Linked DNA regions of Homo sapiens: regions 1, 2, 3, 5 and 6 are each linked to region 4. The links are contacts of gene promoters, found by promoter capture Hi-C in blood cells and fetal thymus (Javierre and others, 2016). All regions are on one chromosome and are shown on one strand. Each heading gives the region's core, a stretch centred on a gene start or on the middle of the fragment in contact. The rest is flanking DNA. Distances are from core to core; before and after follow the strand shown. Region 1 overlaps MCM5 (minichromosome maintenance complex component 5). Region 2 overlaps RBFOX2 (RNA binding fox-1 homolog 2). Region 3 overlaps MCM5 (minichromosome maintenance complex component 5). Region 4 holds the start of APOL6 (apolipoprotein L6). Region 5 overlaps RBFOX2 (RNA binding fox-1 homolog 2). Region 6 overlaps RBFOX2 (RNA binding fox-1 homolog 2).

Region 1 (3,419 bases), core at 378-2,877, 240 kb before region 4:
CGCCAGCCCTTCCAGCATTCGTAGCCTGAAGGTGGGTCGGAGGGCAGTGGCTGCTGCATGGTGCAGAGGGCTTTGGATGCAGCCAGACCTGAGTGCTAGCTGTGTGGCCTTGAGTGAGGCACTTGACCTTTCTGAACCTGTCTCCTCCTGGAGACAAAAGGATCGTTTGTTGTTTTTTGCTTTTTGTTATGAAAAATTACACACCCAAAAGCAGAGAGTAGTATAATGAATCCCATAAAGCTTCACCCAGATTTAATAATTAACATTTTGTGTTGTTTCCTATTTTGTCCTTTTTCTTTTTTGCTAAAGAATTTTAAAGTAAATTCATGCACAGTGGCTCATGCCTCTAATCTTAGCACTTTGGGAGGCCGAGGGAGGAAGATTGCTTGATACCGGGAGTTTGAGACCCTGGCTCTCCAAAAAACAAAACAAAAAAAAAACAAAAAAAACAAAGCTAGGTATGCTGGCATATGCCTATAGTCCAGGCTACTTGGAAGGCTGAAGTGGGAGGATCAAGGGGCCTAGGAATTTGAGGTTACAGTGAGCTCTGATTGTGCCTCTCAGCACTTTAGCCTGGGTGACAGAGCAAGACCCTGTCTCTAAAAATAAAAAATAAATTACAGACATGACACTTTATCCCGAAAAAAAAAAGTTTTCTTACATAGTCTCATTAGCACCTCAACTGAAACATCAAAGATCTCTTAGTATCATTGAATATACAGTCTAGATTCAGATTGACCAAATTACCTCACATGACTCTTACAGCTCGTGTGTCTCAGCCAGGACCAGGCATTGTACTGGATTGTTGTTTAAATCTCTTTTAATCCAGGACAGCTTCCTTTACTCTGGGTGTAAGTTCTTTCACAGATACATTATTGATTTGCTAAAGAAGCAGGAGCCATTATCCTGTAGAATGTGCTGCCTTTTAGATTTATCTGAAGGCCTCCTTGGGGTGGTTACAACATACCCCTTCCCCCCCGTGATTTTTGGAAGCTGGAAGTTAGATGCAAAGGCCTGACTGTGTTTCGATTTCACATACCGGGCAAGAACGCTTATGGGTGGTATTGGATCCCTCATTGCATCCCTCCATCCACTATGCTGAGACTGACCAGGTGCTAGGTTGAGGTGGTGATGGTCACTTTATTGTAATGATGCAGGCATGGAGTCTTGAATTCCGCCTCCCCAGCCTCGCTTCTGCTTCCCACAGCCTCTTCCTGCTTTCTTTGAGAGCCCCAGCAAAACTTCTGCTCATGTCTGGTTCTCTCGTTCAGCCGGAGGAGGGCATTGAGAAACGGAGACAAGGTGGAGAGAGATTGTCCCAGTCCTGTACACTAGTGGCTCAGGAGCTTTGTGAAGGGCAAGGGCTGGCCATAGGAAGGAGTGGATCGGCTGAGAATTTATGTTTTACTTTTTATTATGGATAATTCAAACATTAGAATATAAAGAGAATCGTATAACGAATCCTCTTGTACTCATCACCCAGCTTAATAATTAGCAACTAGAGGCCAATTTTTTTTTTTTTTTTTTTTTGAGATGGAGTTTTTGCTCTTGTTGCCCAGGCTGGAGTGCAGTGGCACGATCTCAGCTCACTGCAACTTCCGCCTCATGGGTTCAAGTGATTCTCCTGCCTCAGCCCCCCAAGTGGTTGGAATTACAGGCACACACCACCACGCCCGGCTAATTTTTAGTAGAGATGGGGTTTCACCATGTTGGCCAGGCTGGTCTCGAACTCCTGACCTCAGGTGATCCATAGATGCCAAATCTTGTTTCATCTGTGGCCCTGGAGTTCTTTTGAAACAAGTCCCATACATCATATAATTTGATCTGGAACTATTTCTCCATGTATCTCTAAAAGATGAATCTCTTTTTTTTTGAGACGGAGTTTGACTCTGTCGCCCAGGATGGAGTGCAGTGGCATGATCTCAGCTCACTGTAACCCCTGCTTCCCCGGTTCAAGCAATTCTCCGGCCTCAGCCTCCCGAGTAGCTGGGATTACAGGCATATGCCATCACACCTGGCTAATTTTTGTATTTTTAGTAGAGACGGGGATTCACCATGTTGGCCAGGCTGGTCTCGAACTCCCGATCTCAAGTGATCCGTCCGCCTCGGCCTTCCAAAGTGTCGGTATTACAGGCGTGATCCACTGCACCCAGCCTTTGAAGAGTCATTTTTAAAGGCATAGCTACAATAACATCACACTTAAAAATTAACATTACGGCCGGGCGCGGTGGCTCATGCCTGTAATCCCAGCATTTTGGGAGGCCGAGGCCAGTGAATTGCCTGAGGTCAAGAGTTCGAGACCAGCCTGGCCAACATAGTGAAACCCCGTCTCTACTAAAAATACAAAAAGTTAGCTGGACATGGTGGCAGTTACCTGTAATCCCAGCTACTTGGGAGGCTGAGGCAGGAGAATCGCTTGAACCCGGGAGGCGGAGGTTGCAGTAAGCCGAGATCCTGCCATTGCACTCCAGCCTTGGCGACACAGCAAGACTCTGTCTCAAAAAAAAAAAAAGAAAAAAGAAAAAATATTACTGCCTTATTGTCCGGTGTGGGAATAGTCATTAAGATGGGGAAACTGAGGCTCAAAGAGAAGTGACCCAGACAGAAGACCACACAGCAGGTTTTGACAGAACTTGAACTAGAATGTGGGCCCCTGCCTCCCAGGTTTGTTCTGTGTTGTACTCTACAGGTCCAAGGATGTCGCCATCAGAGCTGGGGTCAGGTCTCTCTCCTGGCACCTGCCACTTTGTAGTGAAATGTGCTTAGTGTATCTCTTGCCCTGCCACCTCCCCCCCCAATTGTGCTGCGAGGTCTTTAAAAGCAGGAGCTGTGCCTGAGGCTCCTCTGAACCCCAGGGTCCAGATAGCCTGGCACTGGGTGGATGCTCTGGAAGCATTTTTTGAGCGGAACAGAAGAGCTGTGGCCCTCCCTGCAGCTCTGTGCCCACCTCCTCCAGGCTCCTGCCCAGGATATTTACTGGCATATCTCAGATGCGTCCTGGCTCCCCTTAACCAACAAGCTTCCCGATGGCTCTATTACAGTCGGACATGATGTCACACCTGGTGAAGATCCCTGGCATCATCATCGCGGCCTCTGCGGTCCGTGCCAAGGCCACCCGCATCTCTATCCAGTGCCGCAGCTGCCGCAACACCCTCACCAACATTGCCATGCGCCCTGGCCTCGAGGGCTATGCCCTGCCCAGGAAGTGCAACACGTGAGTCTGTGGCCCAGAGGGACTGTGGGAGGTGACCTGAGTGAAGATCAGAAAGGATGAGAACAAGTAGCAAGCACTGCCTGCAGCTGCTTCTAGAGATCCACTGGGATGGGCTGGGCAGGGGTGTGCCCTTAGGATTGGCACAGATCTGATGCCCTGTGGCTCTGAGACACCATGAACAGGGTCCCTCTACATTGGTGACTTC
Region 2 (3,745 bases), core at 784-3,283, 180 kb after region 4:
CAAGTTAAAAATCATTAATTAACTCAAAAGAAATATTTGCTGGATGCTGACACTGGTGATATAGTCCCAATCCTGAAAGAAACTATAGTCTGATGGAAAAACACAGAAATATACTCACAATTATAGTACCATATAAGCTAAACGAACAATGCATACAGAATGTTAATGAAGCACAGAGGGACAACTGTGTGAGACAGGAAGATTTCTGAAGTAGGTGAAGTCTAAGCTGAACCTTTAAAGACAAATTAATCATGTGGGAGAAAAATGCATCTGGCCCAAAGTAATAAATAATAGTCATGTATCACTTGATGACAGGGATATGTTCTGAGAAACGTGTCCTTAAGCAAGTGTCTTTGTGTGAACATCACACAGTGTACTTACACAAATTTAGATGGTATTGCCTACTACACACCTAGACTATATGGCATCGCCTATTGCTCCTAGGCTACAAACTTGTACAGCATGTGACTATACTGAATACTGTAGGCAAGCATAACACAAACCTAAGTATTTGTGTGTCTAAATATAGAAAAGGGACAGTAAAAATACAGTATTATAATCTTATGGAACCACTATTGTGTATGCAGTCTGTCGTTGACCCAAATGTTGTTATACAGTATATAACTACATGAAAAATGTTTTTAAAAAAATATGAAAATGTATATGAAAAGCAATAAGGTATAAAATACAGCATATGGAGGGAGAAAGGAAGTAAAGAAGGAGAAGAATCTTCATATTTTCTGGGGCTGGGGAAATAAGAGAGCAAATCAGGGGATTCATTCTATTATAAAAGGGATCCATCATGACCTGCTAGAACCACTCAAAACTGTCTCTCTGTCATGAAGCTATATGGGAAAACCTTACGTATGCTATAAAGGAAATTGCGAGGTCCTGTATCCCTCTGAGTCAGGGATCAGCAAACTATAGCTTGTGGTTCAAAGCCAGCCCTCCACCTACTTTTGCATAACCTGCAAGCTAAGCATGGTTTTACGTTTTTAAATAGTTAAGAGGCCAGGCACGGTGGCTTACGCCTGTAATCCCAGCACTTTGGGAGGCCGAGGTGGGCAGATCACAAGGTCAGGAGATCGAGACCATCCTGGCTAACATGGTGAAATCCTGTCTCTACTAAAATTACAAAAAATTAGCCAGGCATGGTGGCAGGCACCTGCCCTTGGGAGGCTGAGGCAGGAGAATGGCGTGAACCCAGGAGGCAGAGCTGGCAGTGATCCGAGATCGCACCACTGCACTCCAGCCTGGGTGATAGTGAGAGACTCTGTCTCAAAAAAAAAATAATAATAAATTAAAAATAAAGTTAAAAGAATCATATTTTGTGACACATACATATTACATGGAACTTAAATTTCAGTGTCCGTAAATAGTTTTACTGGAACACAGCTACAACCAACGATTCATTTACTTATCATCTATAGCTTCTTCAATGCTTCATCAGCACAGCCGGGTAGTTGTGACAGAAACAACATGGCTTGCAAAGCCAAAATTGTTTACTATCTGGCCCTTTACAGAAAAAGTTCGTGGATCTTTGCTCTCAGTTAAGAGTCTTTTCAAAACCCAATCTCCTTCACTTAAGTCCCAGTTTGTCTCTTCCAAACTTCTTATGAGGAATCATAATTAACATTAGGAAAAAAGAATACAGTTGTATCATTTGTGGACATAAAAGCATTCATTTATAATTTCATAAAATAATTATTGACTTCCATTACTCAGTGACAGTAACCTTTGAGGGATCAGGGCAAGACTCAGATACTAAAAGACAGGTAGATTCCTGCCAATCAGCTGAGGGCATGCTTTATAGTGGAGAGAAAAACAATATTCTATTTATTCTTTTTAGGAGTTCAAGGTAATATCCCTTCATTTTTGAAATTATAAATTGCCAACAACACTACATGTTCAATGAGCTATACAAACTGACTAAAGCCAGTTGTATGCGATGGCTCACGCCAGTAATCCCAGCACTTTGGGAGGTCGAGGCAGGTGTATCACCTGAGGTCAGGAGTTCAAGACCAGTCTGGCCAACATGGTGAAACCCTGTCTCTACCAAAAAGTACAAAAATTAACTGGGCATGGTGACGCACACCTGTAGTCCCAGCTACTTGGGAGGCTGAGGCAGGATAATCACTTGAACCCAGGAGGCGGAGGTTGCAGTGAGCCGAGATCACACCACTACATTCCAACCTGGGCGAAAGAGTGAGACCCTGTCTCAAAAACAACAAAAAAGAAACTGACTAAAGCCAAACATGTTATCATAAAACAAAACTTATAACAAAGATATGATACTTAATACTCATAACTGTAGAATGTTTAGCAAATGCTGGGAAGGAGGCAGGGGATGGAGAGAGGTTGGTTACTGGGTACAAAAACACAGAAGAAATAAGTTCTTGGCCAGGTGCAGTGGCTCGCACCTGTAATCCAAGCACTCTGGGATGCAGAGGCAGGCAGATCACTTGAGGTCAGAATTTCGAGAGCAGCCTGGCCAACATGGTGAAACCCTGTCTCTACTAAAATTACAAAATTAGCCAGGTGTGGTGGCATGCACCCGTAGTCCTACCTACTTGGGAGGCTGAGGCAGGAGAATCACTTGAACCCAGGAGGCGCAGATTGCAGTGAGCCAAGATCTGAGCCAAGACTGCACCACTGTACTCCAGCCTGGGCAACATAGTGAGATTCAGTCTCCAAAACAAAGAAGAAGAAGAAGTTCTAATATTCAACAGCACAGTGACTATAGTTAACAATAATTTATTGTGTATTTCAAAATAGCTAGAAGGGGAGATTTGAAATGTTCTCTATACAAAGAAATGATAAATATTTGAGGTCATGGGTATCCTAATTACTGATTTGATCATTACACATTATACGCATGTATCAAAATATCATATGTACCCCATAAATATGTATAATTATGCATCAATAAAACTTAAAAAGTAATCATAATTGATATTTTTACTTAGTGATTAGACATAAATGACAAATCATTCATATAAATTAATGCAACTAGTCCAGGACAGTCAGTAAACATTCTGGAAACCGTATGTTTTCATATCTATGAGGAGTAATTCAAGGAAGTAGGAAAAATAAGCAAGGCAACAGAAGATTAAAGGGAACGTTCAGCAGTATCTTCAAATATTTGGTTTTTATGTAGAAGACATGAAACCACTCAATGCAACTCCAGATGAGAAAATGAGAAGGAGTGAGAAGACAATCATGAAAACAGATTTCAGCTCATAAAGAAAACTTTTCTACTTATCATGGCCAACAATGGAACTATTTATCTTATGAGGTTCACAGAATAATGGAAGAGCATGCGAATTTGGGACTAAATAGATCTCCAGTTTGAAACCTATCTCTCTCTGTTTCCAGGCTGCCTGATCTTTAGAATCTCAAAGTCTCCTGCAAAAAATGGGAAAAACCTCACCTATCTCAAAGATGATTGACAAGTGATACATAATATGAATAATTATGTTTGTAAATGTGCTATGTATGTAAAATTGACTGGCACAAAGTAGGTATAAAAAAACAAAAACATTTTTATAATGGTCATTATTAGTGGTGGTTAAGAACAGAAATGCTGGAGCCAAACTCCTTGGGTTTCCTAATTTCTACAACATGGACATTAATAGTACTGCTGAGTAAGTATATAAGGCTGCTGAGTGGAATAAATGCTCTAAAATATGTAAAGCACTTAAGACAATGCTTAATGCACAGTATGTGCTCTGCATTATTATTTAGT
Region 3 (3,343 bases), core at 266-2,765, 220 kb before region 4:
CATCTGTTTAGCGGGGCTCATAAAGCCACTCCCTTGATGCTGGGAATCCAGTGAGACCAGGGAGTGGGGAAGCGCTTCTCAAAGTGTGTGATTTTGATCCGCCTCACCTGTTCCCCAGTAACTTATTGGGGGGCTGCGAGCCGTGGTGCGGCGGTCAGACTGCCTGGATTCATGGACCCTCTCCATGCCTTAGTTTCCTTATCTGTAAGCAGGCTGATACTAGAACCTGCTTCACAGGGTTGTGCTTAGGGTCAGTGAGCAGCTGTTAGTGAGGGGAATGTAGTGGCCACCAGGCAGGAACTAGGACTCCAGCCAGTTCTTTCCTGGTGGGCCACGTGTAACTGTGTGGCCTTGGGCGAGACATTTCACTTTTCTGTGCCTGAGTTTATCAGTAAACTGGAGATGGGGGGATTCCTCACCCTGAGTTGTGAGGATTGAATGACAGAAGGCACTAGTGACAGTGATGCTGGAGGAAGGAGTGTTGCCAAGTGCCTCGGTCACTTTGCCTAATTTCAGAAAGTCACTCTGAGTTGGTATGTTTTGTGTTTTTAAAAAAGCTAGGATTCATAAAATTAAATAGAAATCAGTGAAATAAAATATTTGATATTTAAAATACATTTAGAAATACAAAGTGTCAAGCAAAACGTGAATTTGGAAATCTATGGAACATTAGATAAGGTATTTAAAAGTAATTGCCATGTAAAAATGACACGAACTTGAAGTAAGATTATTTGATTTTTCTAAAAATACAAGAAAGCTTGGTGCATCCGCCTGGTCATTGTTGAATCACAAATGTATTTTTGTGCAGAAGATTCCTGCAGCTCAAAGCCCTTTCTGATTCCATACTGTTCGGGGAAATGGAGAGATGAGAGGAGCTAAATCAGCTTTCCTCTGACTCACTCCCGTTCAAAGCTCATTTCTTTTCTGATAATTTTGAGAGTGTCTGGAACAGCTTTTGTTTTCTTGGTGGGGTGGCAACCTTACTGGGCGCGCTGTGGGTTTTGCATCCAAGGCTGCATCTCCGGTTCCTGCTAGCCTTTCATCTTGCTCAGGTGGGGACTCGCGTGCATCTCAGGCCCAAGGTCCTCCCGTCCTGCTTGTTCATGGAGTGTGGAACTCTCATGAGGTTCACCCTGCAGTGGCAACTTTGCTGGTGGCCTTTTCTCCACCCCTGTGGTGGGTGGTGCTGCTGTGGTCACCTCTGTTTTACAGGTGGAGAAACTGAGGCTCAGAGAGTCAAGTGTCACAGTGAGGGAGTGCAGGGCAGGCTTCAAACCTGGTGGCTCCGAACTCCACCCATGTCACCTTTTCTGCCAGATTCTCTCTTGGCAGTCCCTGACCTCGGCCTGAGTGGGATGCTGGGCAGAGACAGTCCTGGCCTGGGGGAGGCAGGTGCCAGTCAGGTGGGGGAGACTGACCCTGGGGTAGGTTCCCAGGGGTAGGTGGCCTGACTGGCAGGCACAGGACTGAGAGGCCAAAGGGGGTCCGACTGGCTTTTCCGTGGTAGTTGGGGTAGGGCTCATAGGAGGAGCAGCTGTGCTCAGAGCATGCCAGTCTCCTTCCAGATCGGGGCAGCAGCATGAAGAGAGGCCCCTGAGCCAGGGAAACACCTGCTTGTTGGGGAAAGCAAAGGCTGAGGAGAGAGCCTGAAGGGAGGCCAGGAGAGGGGAGCATTCAGGCTGAGTAATAGTTGGGGCTCGGCTTAGTGGAATCTCCAGTCAGGCCTCAGTGACACCTAGAGAGGCAGGGAGGTGGGGCAAGGGGGGGAGCTGGATTCCCGAGCTGGTGCTGCCACTCAGGGTGGCTGAGCTCTTCACTCACCTGTGACCTGGCTCCCTTAGGCTTGTCTTCTCAGATCTGTCCCTACCCTCACCAGCTACAGGCCGCGACCCAGCGGACATTTCTCTCTGCTGAGCAAATCACTTCACCCCTCAGCCTCCTTTCATCTGTAGAAAGGGCACAGCAGTACAGTAGCCCTTTCACCCAGGGGTGGCTGTGAGGATTAACTGAGGGGGTAGACATCAGAGCAGCTGGGCCTGGCCCCGGGGAGGTGCTCCCAGGAAGGGCTGGGTGCCTGTGGTTTTCCCTGCCTCACAGCCTCTGCCATCTCGGATTTCACCTTTTCATGCTTTTGTGTGAGCAGAGGCCGAGCCTCTGCTGCTGTGTTCCCTGCCCCACTCTACTCCTGGCTGCATGGGTCTCTCAACTTCGCTCACCACTATGAGAGCCGCTCCACCCCTTCTCCAGTTCCAGGTCTGGGAAGGAGAGAGCAGACAAGCTTGCTCATGATGGAGTCCTTTTACCTGGTTTCTCTCTCTGTTCACAGATACCACCTCTGTTGATCTGGGAACTAAGACCATGTTGCTTGTCCTTAGTCACATATGACTTAATTTGCACCCATTGTGGGCCACTGGTGTCAGACAGGAAGCCTAAGCGCAGGTATCACTGAGGAGGATACACATGCTAACTACACGATCTTCACCAGACCTGTGAGCTTCCAGCCACCAGATCCAAAGTCACAGAGCACAGGGACTTACAAACCCAGTGCTGGAAAACATAGCAAAGGCTATATCCAATTTAGGTTTCTCTTTATTGGAAATAAAGATGGCCCATACTTCAAATATGTTATTTAGAGAATGCTTATAAAGAGCAGCCTAAAGTCCCATTCTCTTGCCTGTAAGCAACAAAATTACAAAAATGTTGAATTTCTAAAATGCGAAAGTTAAGCATTCCAGAGACCAGCTCATGGAAGAAGGTTTTATGTTTTTGGGTGTTGTAACTATTATCCATATGTATTTAAACATGAATACGTCTGTTTGGTATTTAACACATTTTTTTTTTTTTTGGCTTTCAAGGCCTTTATTTTTTTATTTTTATTTTTTTCCCTTTTTTAATTTATTATACTTGTTTTTGGGGTACATGTGCAGAACGTAAAGTTTTGTTACATGGGTATACACATGCCATGGTGGTTTGCTGCACCCATCAACCCGTCATCTACATTAGGTATTTCTTCTAATGTTATCCCTCCCTAGCCCCCCACCCCCCACAAATGTTTAATTAGGAGTGTCAAGTCTGGATGAACCAAGGTAGATATTTATTTTAAGACATTATGGTGAGGCCAAAGAGTACATTAAAATGGTTTTAATTTGTTTTTATAGATCAAAAACAAGCATTTTTTATTAAAAATATGAGGCAGTAAAGCACAGTGGTTAAGAACATGGACTTGGGGCCAGGTGTGGTAGCTCATTCCTGTAATCCCAGCACTTTAGGAGGCTGAGGCAGGAGAATCACTTGAGGCCAGGAGTTCAAGACTAGCCTGGGCAACATAGTGAGACCCCCATCG
Region 4 (3,532 bases), core at 411-2,910:
GTTTCACAAGAGCCCTGGTGGTAAACACTGCCCCCATCCAATGGCCGGTCTGGCCCCTGAGACTCCCAGGACCGAGCAGTGACCACAACATCTGGGTCCGTTGCCAGGGAAAACAACAGGCAGGCCTGGGATGGCTCAGCGGCCCCAGCCAGGCAGCCAAGTCCTCCTCAAGGTCAGGCTGTGTTTAGCGTGTTCCCCAAGTGTGGGAGGCCAGGAGCAGGGGTGGGTTGTGGAATCCGGGATGCCACGGTTGGAAAGGCCCCTACAAGACCCAACTCAGCAGCCCTTAACCCCTCATTCCTGCTCGTAGGGCCCAGGGACAGGAGGTGGCCTCTATCACAGCAAAGCCAGGACTGGCTAGGTGGGCCGCACCTTCTGCAAAGCAACAGCCTCCAATGTGGTCTCAGCTAGGGGTGGTGACTGGGGACTTCTGGGCATATAAATACAAACAAACCACATGGCTTCTGATCACAATTTGACACAAATGCTAGAGAGACACAGATCTCAGCCCGTAACCTCACTGTGGGCTCATTCTTGTAGACACAGAGCCTAGGACTGGTTCTTAGCTGTGTAATCACAAACAACCCACAACTTCTAGAAGCCTGGGTTTCCTCTTCCTTAAAGTGGGAGACAGAGTATCACAATCCTATATCTCCAATCCTTGAGGCCAGATGCATGTCAGAGTTCCTGATTTGGGGGATTTTTAGAAAGGTAATGGGGTGCAGGTATCGTGTACTATGTAACCCACGCACCCGCAGCAGCCCTCCTCAGTCAAACATATTAATATTTCTGCAGTGACTGTAAATATTCAAATTAAGCAGGAGACATAAAAACCACAGGTGAATTCATGCCAGATCAGGTCAGGTTTTGCCACTAAATGAATAAATTATCATTTTTTTTTAAGTTTTCATTCTGAGGCCAGGTGCGGTGGCTCACGCCTGTAATCCCAGCACTTTGGGAGGCCTAGATGGATGGATCATTTGAGGTCAGCAGTTTGAGACCAGCCTGGCCAACATGGCAAAACCCCATCTCTACTAAAAATACAAAAATCAGCCGGGCGTGGTGGCAGGTGCCTGTAATCTCAGCTACTAGGGAGGCTGAGACAGGGGAATAGCTTGAACGTAGGAGGCGGAGGTTGCAGTGAGCCGAGATCGTGCCATTGCACTCCAGCCTGGGCAACAGAGCGAGACTTCATCTCAAAAAACAATAATAATAATAATAATAAAATAAAGTTTCCATTTTCAGAGGATTCTGCATTCAGAGTTATTAGCCCTTTAATGCTGTGCACCTCATAGGGTTGTTACCCACATCAGCGTCACGTAAGATGCTGTGGAGGAAAGCAGTTTCAGAACAATCAGTGATGACAGCTACTGTGAATCCACTATTCAACAGGCGCCCCATCGCTTGCTCATGGGCTCCTCACCATAGCTCTAAGCCACAGGAGCTATTTTCATACCCCATATAGGTCCATCCTATAACACAGCCAGGACAGAGACGAGAGACTCAGGCCTCCTGACTTGGATTCTGCTCTTTCACCTCCTTGTTCATCCAATTAGAGAAACTGGCAAAAAGGAAACTGAAAGTGACAGCTGGAGCCCATGATTTCCTGGAAGAGCCCTAGAGCTTTGCTTTTTCTCTCCTGCAGCACTTAACCGAAACCAGTTTTGCAATCAATTCCTGTTCAAAGGCCACCCTACTCTTCCTATCCGTCTTTCTCCAGCCCAGACACTCACAGCCCCCTGCCAGACCAGGGGACCTCGGAGAGGCAAGGACAGAGGTTCAGGATCTTCCTCTCCCTCGGGACCCAAGGCCACAAAGGAGAGCTCCGTGGAGAGAAGGTGAGACGGCGGGCAGAAGTCGGGGGAGGAGGGGGCTGCCGCTCTGGTCCCTGAAGGACAGAGCCCCCAAGGGGTTGGCTTTAGGCACCTGACTCAGGGAAAAGAGCTGCTGTGAAAGCAGCGGGGTTCAAATGCCAGCCAGAGCTTGAGGAGAGTCTGAGGATTAACTTCTCCTGTGTTAATCCTGGTAGGTTTCCCTCCCTTACAGCCATTTCAGGGTTAAATTGAAACATGCTAAAGCATGCGATGTGACTAGCCAAGTTGCATTTGTCCCTCCACTGCTGGGGATCCGAGGGCTTAGGCAGAGGGGACCTGGCCCTTAGAAAGCAGATGATTACATCAGCCACAGGCGTTTCCCTAGAAATTCAGTAGAGGAGTGGTTTAGGGGTGTCATCTCACAAGAAAAAAGGTGCTGGGTGAGTTGTCTAGAAACTGCAAAGCCAACCTACAGAGTTTTCTAGATTGTAGATTTATGTGAAGTTGTTTGGGGAAGAGGGTGAGGGAGTTTGTGATAAATATTAGGGCGACTAGGCCAGGCGCAGTGGCTCATGCCTGTAATCCCAGCATTTTGGGAGGCTAAGGCAAGCGGATTGCTTGAGCCCAAGAGTTTGAGACCAGCATGGGCAACATAGTGAGACCCCGTCTCTACAAAAAATCAAAAAATAGCTGGGCGTGATGGTGCACACCTGTAGTCCCAGCTACTTGGGAGGGTGCTGAGGTGGAAGGATCACTTGAACCCAGGAAGTCAAGAATGCAGTGAGCAGTGATCGCACCACTGCACTCCAGCCTGGGCAACAGAGTGAGACCCGGTCTCAAAAAAAAAAAAAAAAATCTAGGGAGGTTATCTTGAAGCTGTGTTTTCAAAGTAAGCAGATTTTTCTTACTTAGATTGTGTATCTGCAGAAGTTGGTTTTGTGGGGGAAGGCAGGTAAGGAAAGACTGTCATAAATATCCTGTAAGCTTTCAAATGAAAGTAAGTTCTCAAATCCTCTTCCAATAAACCTCTCACAAGCAAATCCTCTCGCAACCACCAAGAGCAGGTCAGAGGGGATGGAATGGGACCTGCTTAGATGAGTTTCCTGCTGTTACCTTTGCCCTGCATCCCATAGGACTAATGTAAAAAAATGAGAGAGGTATTGGCGGACGCTGGTAAAAAATGGGGTTCCAGACCAGAGTCTCTTACCCCCAGCAACCTTGTCATGTTCAACCAGGTGATCCCTGGTTGTGGGGGCTGTCCTCTGCATCGTAGGGTGCTTGGCAGCATCCCTGGCCTCTGCCCTCTACATACCAACAGCAGTACCCTCTCCAGCTGAGACCATCAAAAATGTTTCCAGATATTAGCAGTGTCCCTGAGGAGCAAACACGCCCTGTTTGGGACCAACTACTCCAGACTCTGCGTGGCTGGAATTGCACAGGCTTTCCTGCTTACTGTGTGACACTGGCCTCCCTATGTCTCAGTTTGCACCTCTGTAAAATGGGCATCATCTTAGCACCGATCTCACTGGGTCACTGTGTAAAGCAGGTAGATGTATGTCTGGTGAAAGTAAACTCTTAAAGGTGCCAAGCCCCCTAAACCAAACCTAGCTTCACATACCAAAGAGGGGAGAAGGTTTTTATCTTTGAAGCATTCATTCTTTTTCATAGACTACCCCAAAGAAATAACCAAACATGTAGACAGACGTCTATATAAGGAT
Region 5 (3,531 bases), core at 466-2,965, 200 kb after region 4:
GTAAATTTCTGTCTCTCAATTTTCTAGATGCCTAATATCCTTAAGCTGTCCTTGGCTACCCTAAACCCTCAAATCAGGAAATTTAGCTATACCTCCAATAATTTAAGACCCTGTTTCCTCTTCCTCCAACTGCCCCATTCACCACTTGGATGACAGGTTAAGTAAAAGTGCCTAAGGAAAACCTGTGATAAAAGACAATACCCTTAACTTGCAACAAGTTACATTTTAACCATCTGATCAGAGGCAGTAAATGTTTAATCTGAAAGACTGTCTATAAGAATAACTTCAGGAACAGTTTCTTAAATAGATTTGTCTGGGCAGGGAGACTACATTCATTGTCCCTTAAATCACAAGCAAGCCTGTATCTCCTTACTCTGCCTGATTTTAAACTAATTTGGCCAGACTAGGTTCTACGAAAATTATAACTAATAAAATAATCATTTTCAATGGCACACTCTTAAAATAGGCATGATTTAGCAATGAAAGGTCAAGTACCTAAAATATTTTCGAACTTTCTGTTGAAGAGAACTCACTTTGTTTCATTAACTCAAAACTAGCAATTCTAGAAATAACTTAATTAAAAATAGATGTAAAACCTTTCATTAAAAGAAATACTGTTCAATCATGTCCTCCATAACGTCCAACTGTATAATGCATTAGTATGAAACTGCAAGCATTATGCAATGGAAAGCTTGGATTTAACTAAGCAAAAGAATATATAAAAGAAGCTAAAAACATTTTATAACTGTAGTTAAGAGTTTGGGTAGTAACCAACCATCTACTACTCATTTATAAATGCACTGAAAAAAACTGTTACTTTAAAAAAGTAATAAATAAGATTGTAAAATAGCTTGGGATCCTTCAATTTAAAATTGTTTTTTTTTAATCCCATTAGCTTTCCTATGTGGCAGAATGGAGAGTAAACCCTTAAATTTTAATATCCCATTACCTCCATTTCTAAACGACGTTAATTTCAGATAGAATAAACCTACAAATGGAGTAAAGCCAGGAAAGTGTAGTTTCAAATACTGTGCACTACATTTATCAGTACTAAATACTAATAACCAAAAAAATTGGGGGTGGAAAATTCATCTTATTATGAATATTGATTAGAATTTTGCTGCAAAAGACTTTCATCAAACCATGTCATAATTTCTGAACAGGAACTCTTTAATCCACCCCAAAATTGGGAGGGGGAGATGGTCAATTTCCTTCCTCAAAAAATTCAATTACATACTGTAATTATTTTTTCATATATGTCTAATACTTCAATTCACTTGGGAAACATTTTTACTTTTTCAACTTTTTCCTCAAAGAATTTTACTTATGTTATAGTTACTATAATTCCCATACTTTGCTGGTTGTGGGTCAGAAATTTACTGTTCACAGATGTTTCTCATTGAAAGCACATTAATATTTACTTGTAAAAAGACCTGGTTCTAATCTAGTCTCATAACACTTCCAGCCTTAAGCTGTTACAAAGCCCAAGCTATTGTTTTATGTCAGTAGAGATACAGTTCATAGATAAGTGAAATCCACAAATATATCAAAACCTCATTATCGTAAATATAAAATACTCTTAATTTGAATAATCCAAAATAACAGAAACAGTTATATCATTAATATAAAACATATAATATAGACCTCTATTAGAATATAGTTAAAGAGAAACATAATCACAGCCACTGCCATATGATTGCAATATTGATAGCTTTAGACTTGAATGAAAGCTGTAAGTTTACTCCAGAGAGCTTACCCAACAGGCCCAATCCAAAATAGCTTGGGCCTTTAGGCCCAAAATACCTAATAAGATGTACTAGTTAGTCCATTATTTCTTTTAACTCTATGCATTCCGGTCCAACCTGCAACATAGGTGCTAATTATTAGAGAAATGGCTATTTGAAAGAAAAAAATAATTAAAGGAACATGAAAACAAACTAAAACAAACTGACAGACCAAGTAGTATCTTTAATTCAGAATTAATTGTATTAACTGTATTTATTTTCTTATTCTAGGTTTCCATCACAATATTTCAAAAAATCATGATAGCTCAGAGGTCATCTGGCCCAACTCCTTCATTTTATATACAACAAAACTAAAGTCAAGAAAAATTGAAGTTATTTGAGCATGAACATGGTGGTGGTTAACTCTATTGCTGGAACCAGAATCCAGGACTCCTAACTTCAATTTTTCTTACTATAAGATATTCAGAAATATGCTTGGCAATGACCTAACATTTTCTGATTCTAAATTTCAACAAGTTAACAAATAAGATGTTACTAATGTCATCACAAAATAGTCTAAAACGTTAGACTAAAAATAGTCTTAGTGGGGAAAGATGCCCTCTACTTTATATATTACCTTTCTGGAAAATACAACATTTGGAAACTGCCAACTGTGCCTCTCATCTGCTCAAAACAAAGCCTAAAGTTTATCATAATATGATGGGTTTTTTACATTACATTTATATTGTCCAGCCCACCTGGTTCAAAACACACACACACACATACACACACAAACACACACACACACACACACACACACACACACACAGACACACAGAATCTCTCCAAAGTTTCAGAACTTCTAGGGGTGAATGCCAACCACCTTTGTCTGGCCGCCAATACTATAAATTAAATCCTCTTATTACAGTAAATTAGCAAAAAGCACTGGGAAAGCTAGGCTCTGAATGGTACCGGGTCAAAAGACAGAAAGCCTTGTAGGCATTTCATTCCACCATAAAGCTTCACATAAATCAAACAGTATCTAGAAATTATAACCCTTAGCTTACCTGGACAACAGGATATTGATAATCCATACAATATACACCATACATAGCAAAAGGGAAAAAATCTTCAGATAAGGACAGTACAAAAAGTGTCTAAGTTTTTGCCTTGTTTGCGCTGGCTGTCCTGTCCAAAGGAACTAGGTAGCACCAAAAAAATCCTTCGCTGACCTCCAGTCTACGCAGATAGGTATGCTGGCTCAGCTGATGAAGTCGGAGCTTGGTTGAGACCAGGCCTCCACCCCAACAGGATTTGACAATACACAGAAGAGATGTTCAGAAAAAAGCAAAAAGCTTTGAGTTACTAGTTACAGACTGAAAACTACACTGGAGATTTGCTGTTACTGTTGGTTTTTAAATTGACAACTCAACCAGAAACTCAAGAGGCAGAGAATGACAGCCAGGGAAGGGAACACAGGCTCCTCACACTGGCACACAAACACGGTAGGAAGTCTAAGGTATCCAGGAGCCAAAATAATATATATGTTCCAGGCTTTAAGTGCGTCAGAGAATACTCCCAATCCAGGACACAGAAAGGCAGATGGGACTGGTATTACTACTCTATTCTTTCTTGGGCGGGGAGCATGTACCCGTGTGCACGCATGCGCATTCTCTGTCTCTCTCTCATACACACACACACACACACACACACACACACACACACACACACCCTTCTCACTGTCTCCGGCAGAGACAGGTGTTAGGATTAACAGTATAAAACCTTTCTGCCACGGAAAGGAATGGGA
Region 6 (3,435 bases), core at 783-3,282, 240 kb after region 4:
CTCTCACAAGGCTGCAGTCAAGGTGTTGGCTGGGGCTGCAATCATTAAAGCTTGACTATCAAGGATCCACCACCAAACTCACTCACCTGGCTGCTGGCAGGTCACTAGCTGTTAGGCCTAGACATCACTGGCTCTTGGGCCTTCCCACAAGGCTACTTAACAGTGTAGGGGCTCTGAGAGAAAGGTAGAGAGGGCAAGCACCCAAGATAAAAGCCACAGTCTCTTTGTAACCAAATCTTAGAAGTGACATCTCATCAATTTTCCATATTCTATGCATTCAAAGTGAGTCACTAGGTCCAGCCTATAAGGGGAAGATAATACACAAGGGTATGAATATCAGGAGGTGGGGATCACTAGGGACCATCTTAGATGCTGCCTATCACAGACTAGCTGAATGTATTACAACATATTGGTTAAGAGTACTGACTCTGAAGCAAGACTGCGCATTTGAATCTTCCTTCCCCGTTGTAAGATGAAACAAGATAATAGTAATGAAAGCATCAGACCCAGTGCCTCCTATCATAGGAGGCACTTGGGAATTTGTTTTCTTATCTCTTCCAATCCCAACTGCCTTTAACAATCGAAAATTTCTCCAGTTTGAATATTATCTGCAAACATCCAATATTAGAGCAACTTGTTGAGCAACATGCAAAAATGGTTTTGATTTTCAATGAATCCAAGAAACTTATTTTTAATAACCTTAATTTAATAAAATTAAACACAAAAATAAAAATAAATATCTAAAATTACTTAAATATAGCAGAGGAGAACACAGACACAGCAACAACTGATCTTCCCAACACGTGCTCTGACCACCTACCCCTGCCCAGCCTTTGGCATCTACTGTACTGTTTAGTGAGACCTTCAGTCCCACCTTGCCAAAAAAACCATGATGTTTTTTACCTAACTGGCAATTTCAAGTACTGTACAAGAAGCAGAATAAATAAATCATTAAGAATATTTTATGTGAATGTCAATTTATCTAAGAAATAATACTTAACAATTCTACTGGGAAAAATCATGCCCATTTTACAGATGAGACACAAGAGCATAAAGATCATCTGTCTAATCATATGGCAGGCTAATGACTAGGCCAGGGACAGAAATGTAACTAGCGTATGATGAGAAACACAATGAAACCATAGTCAGTTTTCTGATTTTCATGGATACAAGAATCTTGCCAGTGATTAAAGTTCATCTCACACACTCAGGAAAAATAATTTGACAGTTATTTTAGGGAATGAAAGCTAGGTCGTTTCCCCGCATAAACAACATAAGCTTCTGACTCTTACCTCCCTCTTGATTTATTTAACCTCTGAATAGATGGTCTATATTTAAATAAGCAAGTAAAACACCGTACAAGTTAATACACAATGAAGACAGTACAGAGCCTATAGATTTGGGTTAAGTGAAACCCAAACCTAATTTTTTTTTTTTTTTTTTTTTTTTTTTTTTTGAGACAGAGTCTCACTCTGTTGCCCAGGCTGGAGTGCAGTGGCACGATCTGGGCTCACTGCAACCTCCACCTCCCGGGTCCACGCCATTCTCCTGCCTCAGCCTCCTGAGTAGCTGGAACTACAGGCACCCACCACCACATCCGGCTAATTTTTTGTATTTTTAGTAGAGACGGGGTTTCACCATGTTAGCCAGGATGGTCTCGATCTCCTGACCTCGTGATCCGCCCACCTCAGCCTCCCAAAGTGCTGGGATTACAGGCGTGAGCCACCGCGCCCGGCCCAAACACAATATTTTAGTTGAACACTTTGCTACCCAGACAGTTCATTATACCTAGAATATCCAATTAACTTTTCAACCAATATCTGTGGAATGTCTATTCTATGCTGGCCTTCAATTACAAGTAACATATGTTCTCTTATTTAATAATAGTGAAAGATGCTAAAAAAAAATGTGTGAAGAGGAGCACCAAGTTCTCACATTCAGAAAAACCTATTAATTCTAAACAGGAATGTAATGCTTTCAACTGGATTACAACTTTTAAAAGCAATATAGTCATGTGCTGCTTAATGCCAGGCACACATCCTGTGAAATGTGTTGTTAGGTGATTTCATAGTTGTGAGATCATCATAGAGTGTACTTACATAAACTCAGATGGCCTAGCCTACTACACACCTCGGCTATACGGTATGTACGACCTATTGCTCTTAGGCTACAAACATGTACAGCAGGTGACTACTGAATACTCTACTGTGGGTAATCGTAACACAATGGTATTTATGTACCTAAACACAGAGAAGGGACAGTAAAGATACAATTGTTATTTATACACTCTTATGAAACCACCGTAAGATTGAACTGCATTGACTGATGCCTTCAACTGCATTGACTGATGCATTGAACTGCACTGATGAATGATGCAGTTCATAGCTACCTGAAACGTCTTTATGTGGTACACGACTGTACAGTTTTCCAGAACCAAGAAGGAGAAAGGGGAGTTAGTGAAGTAAGACTACAACTCCTAAAATATATTTTTGTCGTTGTTGGGAAAAGGACCAGAGGAAATATATCTTGGGTGTTTAATCCTCCACCCTCCCTCTCCGTCTTGTCAATATGTGTGCTTTGACCACGCTGATTTTCTGCTCCTCCAAACGAACAATTTAAAATCTACTAAGTATTTACTTACTTGGTTCCAAATTTAGTCCTTAATTTATATATTTTACAACAACAAAATTCCATATTCTGATTTGAAACATGACCAGAAAGAGATAGTTGTTTAACATTAAATGTCATATTAAAACAAATAGTAAAGGCGGCTTTCCTAAATAACTGAAGCTTGCCATATTTTAGCATTCATGCGTAAGCCTTTCCTATCTACTTAAAATCTTTATTCTCATTGTCAAACCCTGACCTCAAGGCCCTTTTACCTCATACCTGAACAACTACAATGGTAACTGTTCTCTATGCCTTTTCTGATCCCATCTCCTGCACTTCCTTGCCCTCCCACGCCCTGGAGGTCATGGGCTATTCTCAGCAAACTCCTCTACACACTCACCTCTCTTCTGTGATATTCTCTTTACTCTTTTGATCTTAAGGAAACCAGACTGCCCCTGAGATTACTGTTGCTTCTACAGTAAACACTTTTTTCTTACTCATCACATACCTCAGCAGGGGCAAGCATCGGCCTTACTCCCCATTACCATATAGTGTTGGACCTTCCAGATATCCTCTTCCTTCCTTCCCAATACTGCTTCCAAACCACTTCTCTTCCCTCCAGGCAAACTGCACCTGTCCCCTGCTAAATAGGGCTCCCTGATTTCATCTCCATTGTTAGTCTTATCACTCTGATAACTTCAACAGCCACATAGATTCAACATTTTGGCCTTCTTTTTGAAGTCTTTAGCACCAACTGTATTTTTCCACCACCTCACCTAAAGCCATTCACCTAGCATCATATTCTAATACAATCATTACCTACAA

The links. The method cuts DNA at HindIII sites, captures the fragments that hold promoters and counts their contacts. A CHiCAGO score of 5 or more calls a contact.
Region 1: a contact is called between a fragment that was not itself captured here and the fragment with the promoter of APOL6 in region 4, in 1 of 17 cell types (naive CD4 T cells). The highest score is 5.2, in naive CD4 T cells.
Region 2: a fragment that was not itself captured here is called in contact with the fragment with the promoter of APOL6 in region 4 in 1 of 17 cell types (M1 macrophages); the score reaches 5.6 in M1 macrophages.
Region 3: a fragment that was not itself captured here is called in contact with the fragment with the promoter of APOL6 in region 4 in 2 of 17 cell types (M0 macrophages and M1 macrophages); the score reaches 7.7 in M0 macrophages.
Region 5: a contact is called between a fragment that was not itself captured here and the fragment with the promoter of APOL6 in region 4, in 4 of 17 cell types (M2 macrophages, M1 macrophages, M0 macrophages and 1 more). The highest score is 6.9, in M2 macrophages.
Region 6: a fragment that was not itself captured here is called in contact with the fragment with the promoter of APOL6 in region 4 in 5 of 17 cell types (M1 macrophages, M0 macrophages, M2 macrophages and 2 more); the score reaches 10.9 in M1 macrophages.

Annotation. Positions count from the first base shown.
Region 1 is chr22:35,403,512-35,406,930 of GRCh38, forward strand. MCM5 (minichromosome maintenance complex component 5) reads left to right here. Exons shown (of 17, transcript NM_006739.4): 4 at 1-31; 5 at 3,042-3,214. Among named protein-coding and RNA genes, the nearest start is that of MCM5, 5.1 kb to the left of the region's middle. The HindIII fragment of the contact is 2,779 bases long and covers 239-3,017 here.
Region 2 is chr22:35,830,153-35,833,897 of GRCh38, forward strand. All of the region lies in intron 2 of RBFOX2 (RNA binding fox-1 homolog 2), which reads right to left. Among named protein-coding and RNA genes, the nearest start is that of APOL5, 110 kb to the left of the region's middle. The HindIII fragment of the contact is 6,874 bases long and covers 1-3,745 here.
Region 3 is chr22:35,424,666-35,428,008 of GRCh38, forward strand. MCM5 (minichromosome maintenance complex component 5) reads left to right here. Exons shown (of 17, transcript NM_006739.4): 17 at 1-766. Among named protein-coding and RNA genes, the nearest start is that of MCM5, 26 kb to the left of the region's middle. RefSeq lists enhancers at 1,177-1,682, 1,683-2,190, 2,191-2,696. The HindIII fragment of the contact is 1,521 bases long and covers 756-2,276 here.
Region 4 is chr22:35,646,786-35,650,317 of GRCh38, forward strand. APOL6 (apolipoprotein L6) reads left to right here and starts at 1,661. Exons shown (of 3, transcript NM_030641.4): 1 at 1,661-1,838. RefSeq lists an enhancer at 1,366-1,665. The HindIII fragment of the contact is 8,876 bases long and covers 1-2,796 here.
Region 5 is chr22:35,846,781-35,850,311 of GRCh38, forward strand. The region is part of intron 2 of RBFOX2 (RNA binding fox-1 homolog 2); the gene reads right to left. Among named protein-coding and RNA genes, the nearest start is that of APOL5, 130 kb to the left of the region's middle. The HindIII fragment of the contact is 2,053 bases long and covers 690-2,742 here.
Region 6 is chr22:35,884,419-35,887,853 of GRCh38, forward strand. All of the region lies in intron 2 of RBFOX2 (RNA binding fox-1 homolog 2), which reads right to left. Among named protein-coding and RNA genes, the nearest start is that of RBFOX2, 140 kb to the right of the region's middle. The HindIII fragment of the contact is 1,512 bases long and covers 1,277-2,788 here.